Regions from separate parts of the Homo sapiens genome. Here region 2 is linked to region 1. The links are contacts of gene promoters, found by promoter capture Hi-C in human tissues and cell types (Jung and others, 2019). All regions are on one chromosome and are shown on one strand. Each heading gives the region's core, a stretch centred on a gene start or on the middle of the fragment in contact. The rest is flanking DNA. Distances are from core to core; before and after follow the strand shown. Region 1 holds the start of PRICKLE1 (prickle planar cell polarity protein 1). Region 2 overlaps CNTN1 (contactin 1).

The links. Contacts are between HindIII fragments. The study calls those that stand out against the background at their distance.
Region 2: a contact is called between a fragment that was not itself captured here and the fragment with the promoter of PRICKLE1 in region 1, in 1 of the 25 tissues and cell types used here (mesenchymal stem cells).

Annotation. Positions count from the first base shown.
Region 1 is chr12:42,586,625-42,591,603 of GRCh38, forward strand. It overlaps PRICKLE1 (prickle planar cell polarity protein 1), which reads right to left and starts at 3,122. Exons shown (of 8, transcript NM_153026.3): 1 at 2,841-3,122. RefSeq lists a silencer at 3,126-3,375 and an enhancer at 3,845-4,402. The HindIII fragment of the contact is 9,160 bases long and covers 1-4,979 here.
Region 2 is chr12:40,957,267-40,962,182 of GRCh38, forward strand. CNTN1 (contactin 1) reads left to right here. Exons shown (of 24, transcript NM_001843.4): 15 at 1,848-1,968. Among named protein-coding and RNA genes, the nearest start is that of PDZRN4, 230 kb to the right of the region's middle. The HindIII fragment of the contact is 4,788 bases long and covers 1-4,653 here.

The DNA.
Region 1 (4,979 bases), core at 1,872-4,371:
TTCCCATGATATTAGAGAGCCCAAAATATAGGTATAGGCCATTAAGAGAGTTACTTAATTACTGGAAAATACTTTGTAAAGATTCTTGTTCCATTTCATGAGTATTATAGACAATCACTCATAATACTTAATTCTTTGTATTTTGCTTTCAAGTAATTATAAGAGATTTTAGAGAAATTATGATGCAACTTTTAAAACTTATAATTCAGCTTACTTTTTAAAAGCCTTAATCAAAGAAACTGCAAAATTTAACTTTTTTGGTCTTTTCAGAATTATCAAAAGAGAGAATATTAGGAACAACTAGACTTACCTACATCTGACTCTAAAGTTAAGAGTTCAGCTATTAACCCTATAGGAGATCTTTATTTCTCCCTAGCTAATATTAGATTTTATCTGGGGGACTCAAGCTGACTTATTACACCACCACACACCATGGACAAATAGTGCTTCCATGGACCTTGATTATAAAAACATAATAAGCTTTTTAAGCTTCACTGGTGTTACTGGCAGAACTGATTGAATCTGTCACTTTAGTAAAATATATCATTTTTCTTTTTAAAACCTATGAACCAACAGGCTCACTCGGTGATAACTCGCCAATTAGTACCAAATTAAAGATGGAAAAATTAATTTACTAAGCCCATTCAGTTGCATCAATATGTCTATCTCTATAAACTATCCAGTTTTTCCTTCCTTTTTCCCTCCCTCTCTCCATCCCTCCCTCTTTTCCTTCCTTCCTTCCTTTTGAGGCTTATTTATAAGAATGAATCATACTACATTAGCCATGACTTATTAAACTTGGAGATTTTCAAGTTCATCAGCAAGTGTGCAAACCCTTAACTGTGGGTAACATCCATTTATTTGTAGCACCTTTCGGTTTTAATATGTAGAGCACATGCATTGTTAACCTCTAAATCCTTTGTATAAACATTTCTGGAAGAGCTGGTAAAATATCTCCTTCTGTGTTTCCTGACTCGCCAGTTGATGGCATTTAGAAACCCTCTGGTACCAGCAGGTGCTGTATTTTGCTTTCTTCAGGCTCCAGCTGGGCTACAATGACAGATTCCTGTCCCAGGCCAAGCCTAGCCACCAAGGCTAGGACCACATTGGAGGCAAACTGAACCAGGCTCCACCAGACAGCAAGATGAATGGCTGCTGTTTAAGTTTAAAATCCCCTGGTGGGAGTAAATATTGTTCCAGAGAAAAGCCTTGACAAATACTGCGTCATCCTTACAGAACTGTCTTGATTAAAGCAGAATCTTTGGATTAAGTTGATGCTCAATTCAAAATGTATCTATCTTGCTGTCATGGGATTTTTTTTTGTTTTTTTTTTCCTTTCTAGAGTCTGAAAACAGACATAATGTTGGGGACGGTCAAACAAGGCTGCCGGCTCCCAAGGGGCTAGAGTCCACTCCTGATAATAGAAGGCGGCTGAACACTGACACTTCACTGAGGATAATGGAGACAGCAAAGGCTTAGTGGGAAAGGGCCAGTTGTCACCTAAGTGACAGGCAACAGCTGAGCTCACACATCTGGAGCCGGACTACGGCAAACATTAGCAACCCTCACCAGTCTACACCTTGGGCCTGTCTGAAAAGACAGATGGAAGTTCCCTCTACTCCTAAAGTACATTAAAAAATGTCTGATGGTGAACCACATCAATTATATAACATCAACTGCAGGCACAGCCTTCCAAAGTACTGATTAAGACGAGGCAGTAGACAACACTGTATGCATGAACAGATACAAGATACCATTTCAGTGATTTGTCATTCATAAAACTTATCCTAAAAGACACATATACATGCATCCATTTGATAGCACAAATGCATGTTAACTCTGCAGGAGAGGCAGATTTTTACATGTTTTTTTGGTTGTAGTTGTTGGTGCTTTTTTTTTTTCCTTTAGGCTGGTTCCCGTGGTGTGTTTGCCTTGTTCATGGTCTCAGTTCTGCCGCTGATACCCTTTTAAAAATCAGCAACCAAACGCGTTCGGCTTGTGATCCTGAACCCTCCTTAGGCAAGCTGGAACTAAGCGTGATGCAGCCGTCCTCCCTCTCTCCCAACCCCCAACCTCGTTCTTCAGCCTCCTGAAGACAATCTGTGAACAATTTTCCCAAAGTCCCAAGAATAACACAGCACTGCCAATAGTCACTGGCGATGCCGTTTGTTTTTCTTAGAGGGTAATGAAAATTTAACAGCTTTCTGCTGCATCCTGAGTCCCGCTCCTAATAACTATTAACATGCCTAGTTTCTTCAACTTTTTCTACCTCAAGAGAGGAAGACGCTCCCATTTTTTCCCTATATCTGTGCTACATTCAGCAAACACCATCGCGGGGCAGGGGGTTGGGGAGAGTGGTGGGAGTTGATTCGCCTCTGCCAAAAAGCCACCAGCCCCTTTCCCCAGCGCTAGAGGAGAGAATCGGTACCCTCCCTCCGGACGCCAGTAGGTGACAGGCGATCCTAAGCGGCGGGAACACGCCAACGCACCCTCGCCTCCCGGCGCCCCGCATCGCCTCGACCCTCGGGCTACAGAACCTGTTTCCACGCCGGAGAAAACCAAGGGAAGAGTTGGTTGTGATGCAGCAAACAGGAGCCATGCGGAGAGCCTCTGCGGAGCCCTGGCGATGCTGCAGCCAATATCTGCTTTCCCTGTCTACACAGCCCAACAAACCGATTATGACCTTCTCCCTGATCTTCTGCGACACCGACCCAGTCTGGGTGTCACAGACTCCGGCGGTGCCAGCGAAGGTGCCCGGCCCTACCCCTGCGGCGCTCGCCCCCCACCACCGCGCCGCAGCCCCCTCTGCGGAATCCGCCGGGATCCAGGCTGCCACTCACCTCGCGCGAGGGAGACGCAACTCGGCTGCACTGTCCTCGGCGCCGCTGCGGGGCTGCTGGGCTGCGGGGCTGCGGGGCTGAGGAGCTGCGGTCCGCGGCGTCAGGGGTGGGCGAGGGTGAGCAGCGCACGAACCATCCAGAGCCCAGAAAGTCTCCGTGCCGACCGCGGCGCGTCTCGGGGAAGTCAGCGCAGGCTGCGCGAGGCTGGCATGTTCCGGGCGCGCTGTCGGGCGGCGGCGGCCGCGGGAGACGGCGCTGGCAGCTGGGCTGCAGGCGGAGTGCGCTCGGGCTCCGGAGCCGCGCGCTGCGGCGCCGCCGCGCACCCCGCCCTCGGCCGCGGGGCCCGGCGCGAGCGAAAACGCGGAGCGCGGACGCCGCCGCGGGATCGAGGCCGCTGGGCGCGCGCCCACGCGTACCCCGGCTCGGCCCTGAAAGCGAGGTCGGGCCCGGCTCGGGCCGCGCCCGGGGGCAGGGCTGCGAGCAGGCCTGGGACCGGCTCCACGCGCAGCCAGTGGGGCAGAGCAGCAGGCGGATTATGCGCAGGGAGAAAAAAGTTCACCAACCGCGGTCCAGAGTCGCAAGTGCGGCTCGCTCGGAGCCTCTGCCCCGCCCCCGATTATAAGCCTTTTTTTTTTTTTTTTTTTAACCAACAATCCCGATGGACTGAAACACAGGAAGAGTGAAGGGACGGGGTGGGGGGTGGGGGAGAGACAAACCCAATTTCCTCTGATCAAACGATTTGGGTAGGGGTGCCTATTTGAGTTCCTTCTCCTTCGGGGGGTGTGTGAAGGGGGCAGTTAATTAAACACTTAGATTCCTTCCGGCGCGCCTTGCCGAGCTGGGGACCCGTTTGGACTCGATCCTGTCTCGTGTAATCCCACAGGCTGGTCTGAGTCTCTGCCCCGGAACCGGAGGAGTGATCTTTCAGAGCAAGAAGCCAAAGTTCAGCCTCTAGTCCGTTCCCTTCCCCGCCTCGACGGCCCTGGTCGTCTCCATGAAAACTCAGTGTGGGGGATCGTGCCCGCGAAAACCTCAGCCCACCGCAATGTCCAGAGCCTGACCCAAGTGAACGTGGCGCACTTAAAAGCGGGTTCAAAGCATTGATCCGAACACGGTGACAATTTTTCACTGGCCAAACTACTCTCCACATTTTCAGTCTGCTCAATTCCCAGAGCTGGGCTCTCAGGCGCACTCACCCACGTTGAACTGGGGCTCAGCCTGTTTGAAAGTTCTGCCCTGACATTTGTGTCACACTAAACCTTAGAACCCCCCACCCTCTCCAGTTCCGGATCGGTGGAGTCTCACCGTGTGGGTACTATTTCCCTGGACTGCAGAGGGCAGACACAGGCGGCAGCTGTTAACCCGAACTTGACAGGTGCCTCTGCAAAGCCAGGGCTTCCTTGACCTCTCCATCCTCTCCACAACGCTCTAGGATACTGTATCATCTTCCAGGAAGATGAGGATGTGTGTGGGGGGAGTGTGGAGGGAGGTGTTGACTGATGCAATTTTTATCCTTTTAAGAAAAATCAAAACTGCCAGTCTCAGAATTTCTCAGAACATCAAGTCTTTTCGATTTTCGTTGGGAATAAAGCAAAGGAATACTCAGCAAAAATGGAGCCGATGAAAAGAGAATGCAAGGAAATAAAGGCAAATGGAGGAGGAAACTGTCTAAATCCAGGAAAATGTATGGCTTCAGCACTGTGCTCTATAATTCTGACTCAGATCTCCCCACGCTGTAGATACTTTCTCCTGTCTAGATGCCCAGGCAGAGTTCCTGAGCTCAGATCACTCAGGAAACAAGGCTGTTGCTTTTGAAATAATTCCACTTGCTAGCGTTGTTTTTTTTTTTTTTTTTTTTTTTTTTTTTTTTTGAGACGGAGTTTCGCTCTTGTCACACAGGCTGGAGTGCAGTGGCGCGATCTCCGCTCACTGCAACCTCCGCCCCGCCCCCGTGTTGAAGCGATTCTCCTTCCTCAACCTCCCGAGTAGCTGGGATTACAGGCACCTGCCACCGCGCCCAGGTAATTTTTGTATTTTTAGTAGAGACAGTTTCCCCATGTTGGCCAGGCTGGTCTCGAACTCCTGACCTCAGGTGACGAGAATCTGGGAAAGAACAAACCAGGTTTTCTTGCCCCTCAG
Region 2 (4,916 bases), core at 1,010-3,509, 1.6 Mb before region 1:
GAAAGAAGAGAAAAGAAGAGAGAAGTAAGAGATTGGTAGTAGGAGTGGCTGCCAACAAGATGGCAGAGCACTGGGAGAGGTGAAGGTTACTGGGAAATTCCCAGTAAATTTACGGCCAACAGGACTTTTAAAAACAGAATTATGCAGTGGATGATACTTTTCAAGGTTGATTTACCCTACCTTTTTTTTTTTTTTGATATAACCAGTTCCAGCTCCTTCAGTTGTTCAGTAAACTAACTTTACTAGGTAAGACTTCATGCTATTTGGTTTTCTGATAAAATAGAGAAAGTGCTGAATTTCTAGTCTGGAGCTCCCTGGTATGACAAAAATAAATAAATAAATAAATAAATAAATAAATAACAGACCAAGAGGACAGAAGGAAAAAAACTCCCCTATTGCAGGAATTTGTAGAAATCTTGGGAACTGTTTCAATTTTTGACCAATCTATACCTCAAGGGACTGGAAGATCTCAATCGACATTAAATTAAGACTGGCTAATATCAAGGATTAAGGTGTGTGGCCACTGATCAGTTCTTTATATGGAGATATTAATATTCTGTTCCAACTAACTATACCAATATGCTCTCTCAGCTATTATTCTTAACCTCATTAATCCAGCAAGGGTTGCAAACCCAAATGTTTTCCAAGAACTGGAGGGAACATGATATATGAAGAGGTTATTGGTAGAACCTATGGTGAAGCAAAACGTTCACTCCATGTACAGTCATGATACATCATAGGTATCTAGATATTTATCACTGAAATAGTAAATCAATATTTTTGGTTCATAGGAAAACCAAATGTCCATTTAAAAATTGAGTTTTCCAAGTTTTCATTCTAAGAAAATATCTTGGAGATAATTAACATGAACTTTGACATGCTCCTGCTACCATACAAGCTGAGTGACCTTAGTTATCTTAGTTAAATTACTTGGATTCCTTAAGTCTAACTTTTACTGTTAATCAAATGGATATAATAAGACCTATCTCATAGGGCAGTTGTCAAAAAAGAATTGAATAAAAGTGTGTGTATGTGTGTGTGTGCCTGTATGTGTGTATGTATGTGTATATGTGTGTGTGTATATATGTGTGTGTGTGTGTGTGTGTGTGTGTGTATGTATGTATGTATGTATATACTTGCACAGACCAGGACCCGGTATAGAGTAGGCATTGAATAACTATTAGCTATTTTTGGAAATTACATTGAAATGGTGTCTCATCATCACAAGCAAAATTTCCTCAAGACTCAAAAATATGTGTTGAACACTCTTGGAGGCAATAGAATAGAGCATTGAACAAAACAAATACTCTTGTCCTCGCAGAACTTATAATTTGGCAACAGAGTACATGTTAGTGGAATTGTACATTTTCTCAATTTCTGCAAACTTTTAGTATCTTTGTAAAATGAACTGTGGCACATATTAAAACTAGTCAATTAGATCAGCTTTGTGAAACCAAATCAATCATTCTTCCAAACCATATAGTATTTGTTTGTACTCATTGATACTTAAAACTTATTGATACTTATTAGACCTTAATATTTCTCTTTAAGAGATATCAATGAAATAGTTTCATCCCTTGAGTTTCTCTCGATATAACCCTCTGATTGTGGAAATAATAGAATGTTAAAGATATGAAAGCTAAAAAATACCTTATCAATAAATTATTCACTTTATTTTTCAGTTGAGAAACTGAAGCCTAGAGCAAGGACATAGAGTTAGCATGTCTAAAACACATTCTTTAAGTGGTGTTCATTTTGTTAGGGGAAAAAACTACCTCTTGGATCTTAAATGCCACATAATTGGTGAAAAATGTACTGATTTGAATAATTGCTGTTTTTGCTAACAGCTGGATTCCAATGGGGAATTACTAATCCGAAATGCGCAGCTGAAACATGCTGGAAGATACACATGCACTGCCCAGACAATTGTGGACAATTCTTCAGCTTCAGCTGACCTTGTAGTGAGAGGTAAGAGTTTCAACATTTTAAAATTACAAAACCAAAAGTATTTGACTTGCATAAACATGTATAATCTTCTGGTAACTCTGGTGCAAATTCTTACATATTTAGAGTCTCAATCCCATGCTTAAGAATGGATCTTAAGCTTCTTCCCATGCCTAAGAATGATCTATGCCAGACAAGTAGTAAACAACACTGATTTTGTTTGTTTTACTAACTACGTATCTTCTAGAAAGTTACACCACATATCTCCTACTAAATGTTTGTGCTTTGTAGACTTACCAAAAGTTCTCGTTTCCTGCTAATACTTTTTAGTGTGTTGTGTATAGTGCTGTTTCCTTTTTTATTTCTATGGAAAAGATATATACTGATGCTGTTTACTATAACCTCAACTGTTATATATTTATCACTTTTGTCTTAGAGTGTAAAGTTAATTTATACATGTATCATGTTTTTATTTGTTGCTGGTTTTTTCAAATTAGTGTTTTCGTTCTTATGAATAATATAATTGAGATTGTGATGGAATATACATTTATTAAAAATGCAACCCCTTTGCTACTGGCCGCTGCCATAGCAGTGAGGCTGGCTGGGAACACAGCACACCTTGTTTAAAATAAAGAGCTGGCTCTTCACTGACTGCCCTTTAGTTTTGCACCCAAGAAGTACCATGTGTTGACCCCAGCTTGCTTACCTTTAATATCTCACTTCATGTAACCAACTCCAACCATCTAACTAATCCACAAAAATACACTTTAACTTCCATGTCAGTTGCTTTATTCACAGTATTCCTTCCATGTCTTTTTCTCATGATTTGTTGACCAAATCTTATTCATCCTTCAAGTCTTAAAGTATATACTAAGTTCATGAATCCTTCTCTTGATGTCCCCAATATGAGCTCCGATCTTCTGAATTTTCATAACATATATTGCTTTCTCTCATATGTTTTATAGCAGTTGGTACACAGTTATCTACTCTCCTAAGTTGTAAAATTCATATATGTTTTTTTTTTAGTGAATGGCAGAGTTCCTTTGCATTGTTTCGTAGCTCTCTCTTTCTGTCTCAGTGTCAGTTAAAATTACTATTTTTTCACATTTCACCTACTAAAAATATTTATTGAACATTAATTGTACATTTTGCCTTTACTTTTCACACTATCAGATAAATTGGCAATAAAATGATATTTGTGGCTTGTTTATTTTAATTCTCCTTCCACATCTGGGTCAATATAATTTTACTCAATCTCATGCAGCTCCTGCATTTCCCTCTAGAGCAATGTTAATATGGGGTCCCTAAGCAACACTGGGCAAATGCTGAAAACTCTTCTACTCCATTTGAATATATTCTCCAATAGAGTTTTAAGAAGTCTAGTTGAAGTTTCTTCATCTGAATGAACTTGGAAATACATTCCACAAACCACTTATTGAATAATAACAAATAAAAATGAGACTACAAAATCCTAAGTCAAACAAAATTCATTTAGGTTCAGTATTTTCATTTATTTTGTTATCTGGGACATTGATTGTTTTCAAGAATTATTAGGGAGAGGGATTAGAGGGATTAGTTCACCATTCTTCCTAGTCAGACCACTAGCTGTTAAGTCATTTCCAGAAGTAGCCAAAGTGTATATTTAATTGAAATTGCTTGCATATGAAAATAATTAGCATTAATATTGCAATAGGAGTTATGTTACAGTGTGTGGACATAAATGTCTTCATATGATTACATTGTAGTAAACTCATAGTACTATTACCATAGAATACTCTGTAATATTCAGAGTGAAGAGGAATTTTACAGATGAAATGCAAGGGTAGTCATGATACTAGCCACACATACTTAGGTAATTAATTATCACCACTATATGTATTTTTATAGAGAATCAATAAAAAGAAGCTATAGCCAATATTATGTAGAAATAAAAACGTATACAGCATTTTAAGTCCTTGCACTATAGTAGGATGCTAATAAAACCATACAGGTACATGAAAATACTGCTTACCTCTGTTAAAGTCAGCAGAGTCATAACCATTCTTCAAACTTTATTTCTAATAATAGAAAAAGTATCCATTTCATATCAAAAGAAATTTGCAATTAAAATAGTCAAATATATTTGACTATTGCAGAACTTGTGTCAAAAACATGTATAGATGTTCTAATATGCTTTATATATTTAAACCAGAAGGTAGACAATTAAACAGTTGTTTTTATTTTTTAATAATAATGGTGAGCAATGTATAAGACATGCCCTGCCTTAAGTGATATTATTATTGGTCTATTTATTCATTTAATTATACTTTTGTATCTAGTTCAGGAAATCATAACCTGGAGTCTATGAACAGGCTTTAAGGGATCCATGGACCACCAGAAATTGTACATAAAATTCTACGTGTATGTACATTTTCCTGGGAAAATGATTTGTAATTTTCATAAGATTTTCGTAGCCAGCAATGTCCCACAAGGCATTAAAAAGCTAATCTATTTTTTATTTCCCCATCTAGATCAAGACTCTCTAATAAAATAAATTGAAGAGATGATTATTCACTTTATGCAAAAGAATAAAATACTAATACATTTCATGTAGTTAAATCTAATAGCACATTTAGATTGTGAATTGCTTTTAAAAGATTCGATTTGCACTCAACCCTTCAAAATTACATGTTTGTAAAAAATATTAAATATGTTATGTAGTAGACAGTAGAAATCTATAAGAACTTTCCATATTTGAGATGGACTAATTTTAATCCATATTCAGATATTGGTAATCTGAACTGCAGCTGCTGAAATTAGTGGTGCAATGAGAAGGACAGTAAACACAGTAGAGGGGAAAGCAATTTCATCTGAGGATCGCTAAAAAATTTTTTATAACAAAATTATTTCTGTGTATAAATGATTATGCCTTATCAGAGAAGACTGAAACAAAAGTATAAATATTTAGACATAATTAAGATTGTGGATTTCTT